Linked DNA regions of Homo sapiens: regions 2, 3, 4 and 5 are each linked to region 1. Evidence: promoter capture Hi-C in 16 types of primary human blood cells and fetal thymus (Javierre and others, 2016). All regions are on one chromosome and are shown on one strand. Each heading gives the region's core, a stretch centred on a gene start or on the middle of the fragment in contact. The rest is flanking DNA. Distances are from core to core; before and after follow the strand shown. Region 1 holds the start of LINC02694 (long intergenic non-protein coding RNA 2694). Region 2 overlaps RASGRP1 (RAS guanyl releasing protein 1). Region 3 overlaps FAM98B (family with sequence similarity 98 member B). Region 4 overlaps FAM98B (family with sequence similarity 98 member B). Region 5 has its middle 9.7 kb from the start of FAM98B.

The links. Contacts are between HindIII fragments. The CHiCAGO score rates a contact against its expected background, and 5 or more counts as called.
Region 2: a fragment that was not itself captured here is called in contact with the fragment with the promoter of LINC02694 in region 1 in 9 of 17 cell types (activated CD4 T cells, naive CD4 T cells, total CD8 T cells and 6 more); the score reaches 34.0 in activated CD4 T cells.
Region 3: a fragment that was not itself captured here is called in contact with the fragment with the promoter of LINC02694 in region 1 in 16 of 17 cell types (activated CD4 T cells, non-activated CD4 T cells, naive CD8 T cells and 13 more); the score reaches 75.8 in activated CD4 T cells.
Region 4: a fragment that was not itself captured here is called in contact with the fragment with the promoter of LINC02694 in region 1 in 16 of 17 cell types (naive CD8 T cells, total CD4 T cells, naive B cells and 13 more); the score reaches 48.2 in naive CD8 T cells.
Region 5: a fragment that was not itself captured here is called in contact with the fragment with the promoter of LINC02694 in region 1 in 13 of 17 cell types (activated CD4 T cells, naive B cells, total B cells and 10 more); the score reaches 24.1 in activated CD4 T cells.

What each region holds. Positions count from the first base shown.
Region 1 is chr15:38,695,338-38,698,037 of GRCh38, reverse strand. LINC02694 (long intergenic non-protein coding RNA 2694) reads right to left here and starts at 1,440. Exons shown (of 2, transcript NR_160786.1): 1 at 1,299-1,440. RefSeq lists an enhancer at 1,281-1,330. The HindIII fragment of the contact is 8,690 bases long and covers 1-2,700 here.
Region 2 is chr15:38,524,754-38,527,453 of GRCh38, reverse strand. RASGRP1 (RAS guanyl releasing protein 1) reads left to right here. Exons shown (of 17, transcript NM_005739.4): 3 at 1,050-1,155. Among named protein-coding and RNA genes, the nearest start is that of RASGRP1, 39 kb to the left of the region's middle. The HindIII fragment of the contact is 5,208 bases long and covers 1-2,700 here.
Region 3 is chr15:38,463,453-38,466,152 of GRCh38, reverse strand. It overlaps FAM98B (family with sequence similarity 98 member B), which reads right to left. Exons shown (of 8, transcript NM_173611.4): 2 at 1,976-2,121; 3 at 750-884. Among named protein-coding and RNA genes, the nearest start is that of FAM98B, 11 kb to the right of the region's middle. The HindIII fragment of the contact is 494 bases long and covers 1,024-1,517 here.
Region 4 is chr15:38,479,769-38,482,468 of GRCh38, reverse strand. It overlaps FAM98B (family with sequence similarity 98 member B), which reads right to left. Exons shown (of 8, transcript NM_173611.4): 7 at 1,010-1,177. Among named protein-coding and RNA genes, the nearest start is that of FAM98B, 27 kb to the right of the region's middle. The HindIII fragment of the contact is 1,136 bases long and covers 770-1,905 here.
Region 5 is chr15:38,443,106-38,445,824 of GRCh38, reverse strand. No RefSeq gene overlaps it. Among named protein-coding and RNA genes, the nearest start is that of FAM98B, 9.7 kb to the left of the region's middle. The HindIII fragment of the contact is 5,806 bases long and covers 1-2,719 here.

The DNA of each region.
Region 1 (2,700 bases), core at 191-2,690:
GGATGGGTCTGGAGCACCTGCCTGGGATGGAGCCACTGACTGACTATGAAGGAGCAGAGAGTTCTACGTGCTTCCTAAAAACGCCAGCTTCTAGCAACACCTATGCCAGGGGACATCAGCAAAAAAGTAAACCCAGGGGTGCCAAGAAGCACTTGAGACCAGAGTAAGGATGCCCTCCCCGTCACTGGCACACAGCTAACCATGGAAAAGGACTTCTCTATGACTGCCAGCCACCAAGGAAATTAGGGACACCAGAGGCAAGAAAATTATGTTCAGTTACAAAATACATTCCATTTTATAGCCATTTCTATTATCGGTTGCTACTATAATAAATTACCAAAACTTTAGCAGCTTAAAACACACACTATCATTTAGTTCTATGGGCCAGAAGTCCTATGGGTCTCATAGGACTAAAATCAACGTCTCGGCAGGACAGCGTTCCTTGGTGGCAGCTCTGGGGGTGCATCACTATCTTTGCTCATTCTGGTCTTGACAGTTCCGTGGGACTGTAAGACTGAGGTCCTTGCTGGTTGCTAACTGGGGCCACCCTGAACTCCTAGAAGACATTTGCTCTGTCCTTACATAGAGTCCCTACCTCTCAGAACCAGCCACAGGGCATGGAATCCTTCTCTCATGGCCCTCTCTTTGACTCCAATTCCCCTAGCTGCATTTCTGTCTCTGACTGCACCCAGGGAAGCCTGTCTGCTTTTTAGGATTAGATTAGGCCCATTCGGATAATCCAGGATAATCTCTTTATCTCAAGATCCTTAATGTTAACCACACTTGCAAAATCCTGTTTGCTATTAAGATAACATATTTACAGTTTCTAGGAATGAGAATGTAAACATCTTTGGGTTGGGGGAGTGGGCATCTTTCTGTCTATCAAACTATTCACCAGGCATTTATTTACTATCTTAATGGCCAAGTACAGTGCTATGTGCTGAATTGATGTTGGTATAAGGGGCATGGGGCAGGGGAGAAAGTCTAGGATGGGTGATGCCCCCCACTGGGATATCTGACTTAGAGCTTTGCAGTACTCCAGGGGATGCTGTTGACATAAAATACAATGTAGATTGTAACTCTCACCTCTCACTCCCTTAACCCTCTTGACTCCCCAGTCCTTGCCCCTGACTTATACAGGCTGGAGGTGTCTGAATAAGGTCATTCCAGTTCTCTGGGAGGCAGGAGCTAAGCTCACCAGGGGACTGAGATCCAGGTTCAGCCATAGCAGAAACTGAGAACCCTGCTAGATCCAGGTTCAGCCATAGCAGAAAAAAACAGAGCAAGGTGGGACTTACAGCCATCCAAACAGACGCCTGGAGACAGATGCTGCTCCTGCCCTTAGCCTTGCTTCCTGGCCTGGTTTCATGGTTCCTCCGGGGACTAGAGAGGGAAATGCCCAGGTCCTCTTGGGCCCCTTGTAGCTCCATATCAGAACAGAAAACCTGTCACTAACTGAAGTCCCTTCCGGCTGAGGTACCCCGGCCTATATTTTGCAGCTCCAGGGCTCATCAGAGCCACCAATTTGCTGATGGGTTCTCAACCACAAGGATGGTGAGTCAGCACAGTGGTTGACTCTCAGCAGAGAGGATGCAGCCTTCAGCAGAGCTCCTGGTGGGGCAGCCTCCTGATCAGCCTGTGCTGTGGTCCTGCCCCTGCATTTCTTCCAGTCCTGGACGTCCCTGGCCTGGCTGGCACCCTAGTCGCACACCCAAGAAGCAGTTCAGCTTGCTGAGCACAGTGTTTCCCAAAACTGTGGCATAAGAGGTGAAGGATAGACCAGGGAGGAAGTCTTCAGCCCAGTCTGACAAACACAGGCCAACGTTTGGCCAACAGCAACTCAGGCTCTTTGCTCTAGGCCAAACTTGAAACATTAGTGTGCTGGTAGGTGTTCTGCCTTCCCTCCCTCTGCTCTAGAATTCAGATCTGGAAGCCAGGTCCTGACAGCTGGGATCCAGATGCAGTCCCCATCACAGCATCACATTCTGGCCAACCAGGCTTCCAGTGGCAGGAGCTGCCACCAGGAATGGGCACCAGTCCTCTCTCAGTTAAAAAGCCTTTGCTTCACACCACAAAACCCAAAGTGCCAGCTGTGGTGACAACCACTGCTCCTACCACTTAAAATTTGCTGGCAAGGGAGACTTTTAGAGAATGATTCCCCCACAAATATAGCATTCCTTTTTTTAATCTTTCCTGTACCCCTCTTAGGGCTAAGTTACTGATGATAGCCCTGCGTGATACAGAGCAAGCTGGCAGCAAGGAGGAAAATTGTCAGCAGTGACAAGCTCCAGATGACAGTTATGTGGCTTGGAAGGCAAGTCTTACTCTAAAGAGATCCTGCCCCCATCCCAGCTCTGGATTACTTGGTCTGATAGGTTTTACAGGGTATGACCCCAGTTTTCTGTTTAAGGACATTGGCCTCCAGATATGACTAGGAGGGAGTTTTCCTCTAATATCTTTCCGCAAAGATCACCATGACAATGACCAGAATAATAAATATCTATAATCACATGCAATCTTTAGCTTTAGTAATAGAGTGTGACAGAGAACTCTGCTGCTGCTGCTGCTGCTGCTGCTGCTGCTGCTGATAGTGATGGCGATGATAAGGAAGACACAAGATAATCTGACCTTCCTCAGCCTCTGATGGCTGATTACAGGTAGATGTGGCTTCTGAAGCAAAGTTACATAATTCACCTCTTG
Region 2 (2,700 bases), core at 193-2,692, 170 kb after region 1:
GCCAAAGGAGATTAATAGTATTAGATCCAACGAGAGCTGGTGCCATGAAGGGAGGACCAACCAGCATGATCATTCATTGAAAAGATATGTAGTCACTGTCAGGGGAGTGGTGTCAATGCAGAGAGGGAATGAAAAACAAATATCCTGACTTCCCTCCACTCCCAGTCTCTTGCTGGTGCTTCCCAATGGCTAAACCCAACTGGAAGCCAGCTGGCAAGTGAGTGGGCTGATATTTTTCATGGTGAAAGAATAGATCTGGCAGAGAATAACCAGCAGAGCTCCTAACACTTCATGCCATAAATGTTGAAAAGATTTTGAAAACCACTCCAAGGGGAATCTTTTTACCCAATGCCAGTGTATAAATGCATCTTATTATTTTGTGCCAGCTGGGATTTAGAAAACCTAGCTAACCATGTTCTTTAATACAAATCATCATGAGTACTTGTAATCCACTTGCAATCTTAAAATGTAATGTTTGCCCATAGTCTTCTTTTATTTCCATCCAGAGGCATATTAACCATAAAACTGGAGAAGCATATATTTCAGGGCTCCTCACTTGCATGAGCCCCTTCCAAGGCCATGGGACGGCCCTAGAAATGTATTCATATGGTCATTTGTTTTTGTAAAATTTGTAAAGGTAAGATATTTTAACTGCAATCTATTAAAAACCAACTTTTCTCACTCTGACCCCAGAGAATTCTCTCCCTGCCCACCCCCCAACCAGTTATATGAACTTTAGGCCCCACAAAACCTGGATCTGCTTCTGCTTTCAGTGAGACTCAAGTGTGCTGATGCAGATTTTATCCCTTTCCCGATTTTACCACTGTGGAGAGGAAAAGGGGTAGTTAATGAGCATCAAAATGGACATTCTGCAAGGGAAGAATGTAGCAGGAGGATGAGAAAAACAGAGGGGGGCTGTGCTAGGGGCAGTGGAAGAAAATCACTGTGCCTGAAGGATTGCACCTGAGTCACAGAGGGTTTGCAGGTGTCTACCAGGTGACTAGTTTCCCTCCAGGGCCTAACTCAGGTGCTGCTCTTTATATTTTCAGATGCAGATGGAAACCTGTGTCGAAGTAACCAACTGTTGCAAGTCATGCTGACCATGCACCGAATTGTCATCTCCTCTGCAGAACTGCTCCAAAAAGTTATCACCCTATATCCTTTAACATAGTGACTGGCAATCCCAAAATGGGATCCACCCAAAAAGTAGCTTGAAATTTGAAGTATGCTTTTATTTTTATTGGTTTGGAATAACCCTGAGTGGCAAATAGGTTCATATGTCCTTTCAGGGGTATGGGTGCATGTGTTGGGGGTGTGTTCATGTATCCTCTGTTGGGTGGGGCAATGTTATTGATGCTGATTGCTCTGGGGGGTGGTCAAAGAAATCAATATGCAAGCACAATCTTCAGGCTCTTAATAGTAAAAAATATTTTTTCTGTAGAGTGTGCAAAATAGATATTCATCCTGTGCAAATTGACAAAGGTGCAAGCATGACTCAAGGATAAATTTCTTTCTGGCCTTCCTGTCCAATTCTTCAACTTTCTCCAGGTTCTGAAGAAAGATTCCCAGTGCCACAGCATCTGGAGAATCTGCTGGTGCCTTATTGCTTCAGGCAGGAGGACTGACTATGTGCCAAGCAAAACCTGCTGGACTTTAACCTTATTACGGGATATGAATCAAGTAGGGAGGAGAAAGCTCCTGCTTGCTTTTTCTCACTGATGACACTGTAAGCAGCAGCCCCCACAAAAGAAGAGTTGTAGGCGGAGTGAGACCGTTTAGCACCCAAGGCGCAGGTCCCTGGTACTGTGTCATGACTTGTAGCTGCTCTAACACTTTTCCACTCTCCTAATTCCCCGCGTTTCATCTTACAGCACACAGAAAAAATAAAAACCATCAGGACTGAATCCCTTCTCTATACCTACTCATGAGTCTTTACCTCTCATCTCAAAGGAGGTGTTTTCCAGTAGCACACAAAGTGGGGGAGCATTGCGAGAAGTGCACATAAATAAGAGGTGCAGGTAATAAGTGGGTGCCTCTTCTGCAGAGAATTTTAAACCATCATGAAACCAACTCAGTGTCTACTTTTTATTAATTTCATGTACCAGTGATTATAAACAATGTCAGTGATTAAATATTCCTCCCTAAAAACTTATTTGTTGGCCTAGGGACTAAATTGTTCCTGGGGTGTCTGGGCACAGTAGCTCACATCTGTAATCCCAGCACTTTGGAAGGCCAAAGTGGGCAGATCACTTAAGGTCAGGAGTTTGAGACCAGCCTGGCCAACATGGTGAAACCCCATCTCTACTAAAAATATGAAAATTAGCCGGGCATGGTGACATATGCCTGTAATTCCAGCTACTCATGAGGCTGAGGCAGGAGAATCACTTGAACCTGGGAAGTGGAGGTTGCAGTGAGCTGAGATCACACCACTGCACTCCAGCCTGGGCAATGAAGTGAGACTCTGTCTCAAAAAAAAAAAAAAAGAAAGAAAATTGTACCTCGGGGTTCCTGCCCTTAGTGCACTACTGGCTGCCTACATATTGGGGCAGACCCCCCCTCCCTTTCCCATGGTCCCTCGTACTTCTCACAGAATCTTACTCCACCAGCTATCACCCCTCCTATACTTTTAAACTCTACCTCTTCAATGGCACCTGCCCCTCAGCCTAAAACACATTCAAGTCTCCTCATCTAAAAATCAAC
Region 3 (2,700 bases), core at 21-2,520, 230 kb after region 1:
AAAACACTAGCGCCTAGGAGGAATATGTCACGTGTAATCTTTTTATAAATGGCATGATCTGAAATAGAAATCTTCAATAATAGAAGGTATTAGAAAAATTCTTTCAAATAGTCATTGTTTGTAGAACTTTAAAAACATTATAAAATTAGCCTAAAGTAAAAAAATGATGAAAGGAACCCAACACAAACATGGACCTACTATTTATGGTAATTGTTTGAATACAGTATGACCTATATTCCAAATCCCTCCCTGATGAAACTGGCCACATTTAAAGTGTCCTAAAGGCACAAATTTTATATTTTTTAAAAAAAAACAAAACAAGCAACCCTCATATATCCCTAGTATCCAGAGCAGTTCTTGGTGTTAGAGTAAGTGATCAACAAATTATCATCCAGTGCCTAGTTTCAGAGAGTTTTTAGATTAAATAGGACTTTGGAGATCATCAATGTTAGCCATATAGTCACGAACAATAACAGATAGAATGAGATAAAGGAAAAATTACTAAAGTACTATATAAATCACAAACACAGGACATTCTATATTGGCCAAATAAATCACAAGTGTTAGAAGGCATACTGGTAAAATTTATACTATATTATATAAACATTTCTGAGATAGCTTTGTATTTTAAGTAAAATATTAAAACCCTTTTAATATACAAAATGTCTAATGCTTCATTAATAAATCTTGACTTGAAAATAATAAAAACCATGTCAAACACATGCATTTAAATGTTCAAGATAACTTACATAGAAGTTTCAAACAGTCCTCCTTCTTTTTTAAACGATCTTTAATATCTCCTGATATGAGTACAGAATATGGACATGCCATTTCTTTTAAAAAGCCACTTATCTCAAGCTGGAAGCTCTCTAGATCATCTCTTCCTTTAAAAAAGAAAAATCATAAAACATTTACTGAGCATTTACCATATAATCCAATACTATAAAATCTACTCGTTTATTTCCATTTTACATTCAATTCTAAATTTTCACATTAAATCCTTAAATGTGTGATCACGAAGCTTACGTTAACAACTGAAATAGTAAAAGCATTATTATGGCTATAATTATTAATTCACTTCAGAGCAAATGATCCATTTCTACTATATTTCTATATATTCAGAAAATAAATGCAACCATCTAATTAACCCTCACTGCTTATCTTTATTTCATAATGTAATTATGTAGGCAGTCGTGTTATATGTTTAGAATTCAAATTAGTTTACTTTGCGTCAAGTGAACTGTTAGATCTGGCTGGGTGCGGTAGCCCACACCTGCAGTTTCAACTACTTGGGAGGGTGGGGTGAGAGGGTTGCTTGAGCCCAGGAGTTCAAGTCCAGTCTGTGCAACATAACAAGACCCCATCTCTTAAGAAAAAAAGGATACTTTTCAAAGAAAAAGCTACTTTTGTGAATGCACAATTTTTAATTTTTCTTTTTATTATACTATTAATATCCGAAATTCTACCAAAGACCCACAGGACTCCAGTTACTAAGATGGTAATGAACTAAAGAAGCTTTATGAGCTAGTACAGAAGTTTTTAATAGAAGTATTCCTATGTGAATCCATATCCTGAGCTACAAGCTTCAGAACACAAATTAGGAATTATATATATATAATATTTTAAGCCTTAATTCAACATGAGCACCATTCAAAAATTAAACTTTTAAATAATCAAATTCAGACCCTACTTTTTCTAAAAAACAATACTAAGGTTTAGACAGCAGATATCAGAGCCGTCAGGAAGAGAAAAAAATAGCAGATAAATAGTAATTGCTTATAGTTTTATAGCAAATTTAAATATCAATTCTGGATTAATATAAAATTTAATCCAAAAATGTTTACTACCACATACTGAAATTCTTTGGAATATGTGATTTTTCTTTGTACAGTGGGCACATTATTGATAAAACTATAAACCGTAAGTTATCAGTTTACTATTAAACAGAAAAGTAAATACAACATAATGGCAATACCAGCAGACGTGATACTTTCTTCCAAGTTGCATAATGATTTTATTTGAGAGCCTAACCAAATACAGAGCTCTGAAAATTCAGGTGAAGATAATCCACCCTCTGCCGCCTTTGTAAGGGCTTGCTCTTCTAACAATGGTCCTTTATACCTAGAAAGGAAGAAATACAAGTTAAAAACTAAATAAGCCAATCAAACAAAAAAACCTCCAACACTCTGTGTCAAGGTCTGCTGCTTGTTTTTGTAAATAAAATGTTATTGGAACACAGCCATTAAATGTATTAATCTACAAATTGGCTACGGCTGTTTCCACACTACAATGGAAGAGCTAAGTATTTGTAACCGAAAATGATGACTACATGGCCTTCTAAAGAAATGGTTTGCTGATTCCTGCTCTATATAATTAACATTTGGCTTTTTTCCTATGTTTTAACATTTTACAGTAAAATTATCTACCAATTTTCAGATAAATACCACAGGTATCACAAAGTCAAATACAGCATAAAGTCTAATAGCCTTATATTAATTACAATAAAAATATGGTGAAAAAAGCACAGACACAAATTACAAATTTAAAAAAGCTAAAGTTGAAAAGAATCTATTAGATCATTTTAATCTAAACCTATTTTATTTATTTTACTTTACTATTTTATTTTATTTTATTTTATTTTATTTTATTTTATTTTATTTTTGAGGCAGGGTCTCACTCTGTCACCCTGGCAGGAGTATA
Region 4 (2,700 bases), core at 88-2,587, 220 kb after region 1:
GGCATATGGAGATGCCAGAACTGATCATAAGACTACCCTCAAATAATGAGACCATAAATTATAAACTCAGAAGAGATGGCCAATGTTACTTACAGAAATAGAACTCTTGATCCAGCAAGACTAAATTATCACCCAATGCAAGATGTTAGGTAATATATTTAAAGAGAGAACACTTTCAGAACATAGGATTGAGCCACAGTGGAAGCACAGAGGCAAACACTGGTGATGCCTAACTTAGCAATAGTTAGCAAAATGACTTTAAAAACAACCATCCCTCTGAAAAGGTATTTTATCTCAAGTTACACTGAGTGAGAAGCGATGCTTTAAAATTATCCAAATCCCTTATTTCTGATTTTTTGCTCTTTTGTAATAAAGTTTGCCATGGAGTGCTCTACCTAAATGAAGAGGACATGCCAGTTAAGCTGACATAAACATACTAAATTACTTTATTGTTATTGCTGTTGTAAAGTGAAAAATTCAGACTCCTTGAGCTTGTTTAAATAGACTACTGTCAGAGAAATGGATGTATACTCCAAATCAGGAAACAGAAGCTCAAAGAAGTTCAGTAGCTTGCTCAGGGTCATTTCTGTAAGTAAATGACAGAGCCAGGATGGGAACCCAGATTGGTCTGACTCTAAAGCACAAACTCTTCTTCCCTTTACACCAAGGATATAACGAATCTGTCAGTACTTGAAACAATTCCGAAAGATTCTTACTGACAAAAAATGATTACTTTTTAGAAAGATGGAACATAATTCTTGCTAAAGCTTTGACAAAAACAATTCATAATTCCTCTAATTCAGAAAATACTTTGATTTATGAATACACAAATTCAAGTGAACATACACACATACACAAAAATAACATAACTAAGCCTAGACTGAACCCCCCTGCCACTCTTTTTTCTAAACATTTACCAGGACATGAAAGAAAAATAGACTAAAATCTGTAAAAACATTAAGTAAGATATCATCAATTCATTTTCCACTGTACTGAAAGAAACACCAACCTTATTAATGGCACATGCGGTCTTCTCCCGGCTGGTGCCACTACTTGTCCTAATGATCTTGGATAGATCTTCACGAGCAGCAAGTAGATGTGCCATTGTAATCGTTGTCTTGGGTGACAAAGCATAACGCTTAGGCTGATAAATTCTTGCTATATCATCTGTTTTTACCTAAATGACAAGAGTTAAGGAAAAAAGGAACAAAAGTACATTTTAATGAAAGAGCAAAAACAATCATAATCTTTAGAAATAAAGAAAAGGAGATAATGCATAAGCAAGGAGTTAGAAAAGAGCAAAAACACCCAAATATCTGAGAATTTATGAATAATTTAGAACAAATAAAATAGACCAACAGGTGTTAAAAATATGTAACTACCAGCAACAACTCGCTAAAAAATAATAACAAAAAAATTTCTATACATATTAACAAAAAATACCTAAAAAATAGTTTTACCAAAACCACATACAGGACATTTAAAAGGGAAACATCAGTAAATCTTGCAAAAACAAAAGGAAAACTTGTATAAATGGTAAGAAATACCAAGTTTCTGTATGGGAACATTAAGTATTATTGTCAGTTTTCCCCCAAATTAACTTATAATCCTATATAAATAGTTTTTGAGAGAATGAAAAAAAAATCTAAAGTTAAATCCAGAAACTCAATATGTAAGAATAACTAAAAGCATTTTGAAATATAATCCTACCAAATACTAATATGCTATAATACAAAATTATCATCATCTTATCAGTTAACATTTAATGAGAACTTATTAAATGTGCCAGGATGCTGTTCACTTAGTAAGGCATTATTTCTTTAATCCTCAAAATATCCTTTTAGAGTGGTTGGTTTTTATTATCCCCTTTTGCAGATGGAAAAAAAAAATGAGGCATAGAAAGCTTAAGTTAGTTTCCCCAAAATATAGAGAGAATCCTAGCTCTGCCCACTTAGCAACAAAGGTCTACCTGACCCCCAAGCACAGGTCTAGTATAGATAACAGTTTGCTATCCTACCTCCATCTAATTAACTAGAACTTGGGAGAAAAAAACATAGATTGATGAAATAGTATATTGAGACTCAGAGCCTCATAAATCTATGAATGCAATAAATGATAAAGGAGACATCACAGATCAACGAGAAAAGGAAAGGATTATCTTTTAAATGGTGCTGGAATGACCTGGTGGCTATCTGTAATAATAACAATAATACAGCACACCATATAACAAAGGGAATTCCAAAGAGAACAAAAAGTTAACTGTTTGAGGTTTAATTTTCAATTTAAAAACAACTACATTATAAAAATTAAAATTTCTGTACTTTAAAAGATATAAAACAACATCTAATGACAACTGGGGAAAATATTTTCAACAAATAATTCAACCAGCAAACTTCCTTTCTATATAAAAACCTCAAACACAAAAAGAAAACAGAATTTTACAGGAAAAAAAAATGACAAGACATAAATAGAAGTTAAAAAGAGGAAATTCAAATGACTAATAAGCTTATGAAAACAGTTCAACTTTGTCAATAATAAGAACAGACAAAACAAGTTAGTCTTTTTAACATCAAGTTAGCAATAAAGAGGCTAAAGTGACACAACATTTCATTTACCTTACTGGAAGGAGTTTAAATTCATATAAACTTAAGTGGAAAACAATTTGGCCATGGGAAGCGAGAGCATTAAGAGACAAAACCT
Region 5 (2,719 bases), core at 65-2,564, 250 kb after region 1:
TCCCACTTGAACCAACCAGAAGTCTGGAGGTGGGAAGTTCTGCTTGTGAAATGACACTGCCTGTAAGGTGATTATTTCCCAGTGGAAGTTGAGCCAGACCTTTAACTTGGCAGCTGGAGCTTGGTATACCAAATGTCCTTGTGAGTGAATATAGCAGGTACCTCATTACACCTAGGACTAAGTATTCTGCTTAAAATGTTGGTATCCTCATCGTGAAAATAAAGTACTGTTTCCTTATCCAAGCCGAGAGGAGGCATTACTGATAATCCAGGAGGCAAGAGGGTGGTTCTCTCAGTGGATGCACTATTATGTATGGTAGTCAGGATAAACTAAGTGCTGTAACAAACCTTCAAATCTCATGGGGTTAGGATAATGTAAGTTTTTACCTCACCTATGCCATAGTACAGTCAAGTGTTTGGTGGGAGAGTATGGCATATTGTATTTTTAAAGATGATCATGACAATGCCATCAATACGTTATGTTCTTTTACAATGTGACTTTACTACTCCCCCATCAAGATATACAGTTTATATTCCCATTGAATAAAGGAAGGGCCTGTCACTACTTTGATCAATAAAATATGCAGGAAATGATGTTATGCCACTCCAGGCATAGTCTTAACTGCTTCCAATTCTTGACTCTTGGAATGCACATGTATGGGGCTCTTCCTCTTGGAACCCAACCACCAGACTAAGAGAATTTCATGCTACATGGAGAAGCCAAGTGTAAGCCCTCCAGTTGACATCCCAGTTGGGTTTCCAGCACATAGCCAGCATTATCTGCTATCCATGTGAGTGGACCTTCTTGGTCACTCACCCAGTTGAGCCATCAGATGACTGCAGCCATCTGTACTATCCAACAAGTGCCCTCAATTGCAAGAGAGATCTCAAGCAAGAGCCACTAGCTGAGCCCAGTCAACTCAGAGAGTCATAAGATCTAATAAAAGACTGTTGTATGAGCCACTAACTTTTGGTGTGGTTTATTGTGCAGCATTAAATAATCAGAACAATGGCCCTTCATGTGGCAGTTTAGGAACCTAACATCTTTTTTGTGACTCAGCTACTTTGGACACATGGCAACCAAAGTTAGCATAGAAAACGGATATGAAGAATGTGGAGGATTATACAAAGAGTTGTACAGTATGGTCTAGAAGAAAGCACATTAATTCTGTCCACCTTGCACAAATTAAAACTAAGTCATACTACCCTAACCTAACTGCAGAGATGCTGGGAAATAGTCTAGGCTGTGTGCCTAGAAGGAAAAACAAACGGTTGATGAAGACATTGCATTTTCTCTACCAAAATACCCCCTTAAAAGATTTTTCTCCCCAGTAAGAAGCCATACATAACTTTGACATATACAAAATTTAACTTAAAATGGGTCAGTAAACTAAATATAATGGTTAACAAAAAGAAAACTTCTAGAAGAAAACATAGGAGAAAATCTGTTAGTCTTGGGTTAGGCAAAGATTTCTGAAACAAGATACCAAATACAAAATCTGTAAGATAAAAAATTGATAAATTACACTTGATGAAAATTAAAAACTTTTGCTCTCCAAAAGACACCATTAAGTGAATGAAAAGCAAGCCACAAGCCTGAGAAAATATTTGCAACTCATATCTGATAAAAGACTTGTATCAAGAATCCATAAATAAATCCTAAAACTCAAAAATAAGAAAACAAACAACCCAACTTTAAAAAATGAGCAAAAGATTTGAACAGATACCTCACCAAAGAAGATATGTGGATGAAAGATAAGTACATACAACTATGTTCAATTTGTCATAAATGCAAACTTAAATCACAATGAAATATCACCATATACTTATAGGGGCTGAATTTTTTCTTTTGTTTTGTTTTGTTTTTTGTTATTTTTTTGAGACAGGGTCTCACTCTGTTGTACAGGCTGGAGTGCAGTGGCGCCATCTGGCTCACTGCAACGTCTGCCTCCCAGATTCAAGCGATTCTCCCACCTCAGCCTCCCAGGCAGCTGGGATTACAGGCACGCACCAGCATGCCCAGCTAATTTTTGCAATTTTAGTAGAGAAGGGGTTTCACCATGTTGGCCAGGCTGGTTTCGAACTCCTAACCTCAAGTGATCTGCCTGCCTTGGCCTCCCAGAGTGCTTGGGATTACAGGTGTGAGCAACCACACCTGGTCAATGGCTGAAATTTTAAAATCTGACCATACCAAGTGTGAGGAAGACATGGAGCAACCTACACTCTCACATACCACTGGTAGGAATGTAAAATCATGCAATACTTTGGAATACAGTATAATGGCTTCTTAAAATGTTGAACATATATCTACTATATAACTCTACATTCCAATACCATGTACCCAAGAGAAAGGCAAGCGTACATCCAGACAAAATACTTGTATGTTAATGTTTATAGCATTATGTTTACCCAAACTATAAATAAACCAAATGACCATCAACATGTGTATGAAATGAGTAAACATATTCTGGTATTTCCATATAGTAGAATACTGCTCAGCAATAAAAGAAATAAATCAATGATATACATAACAATATGGTTAAATCCCAAAATAATTGTAATGAGTGAAAAATGCAAGTCAAAAAAGTGCACAGAATGTACAATTCTATTTATATAAAATTCTGGGGGGTCTGATTCAAGATGTCTGACTAGAAGCAGCTAGTTCATGCCTGTCTCACAGGAAAGAAACAAAGTAGCAAATAAATACTGACTCTTCAACT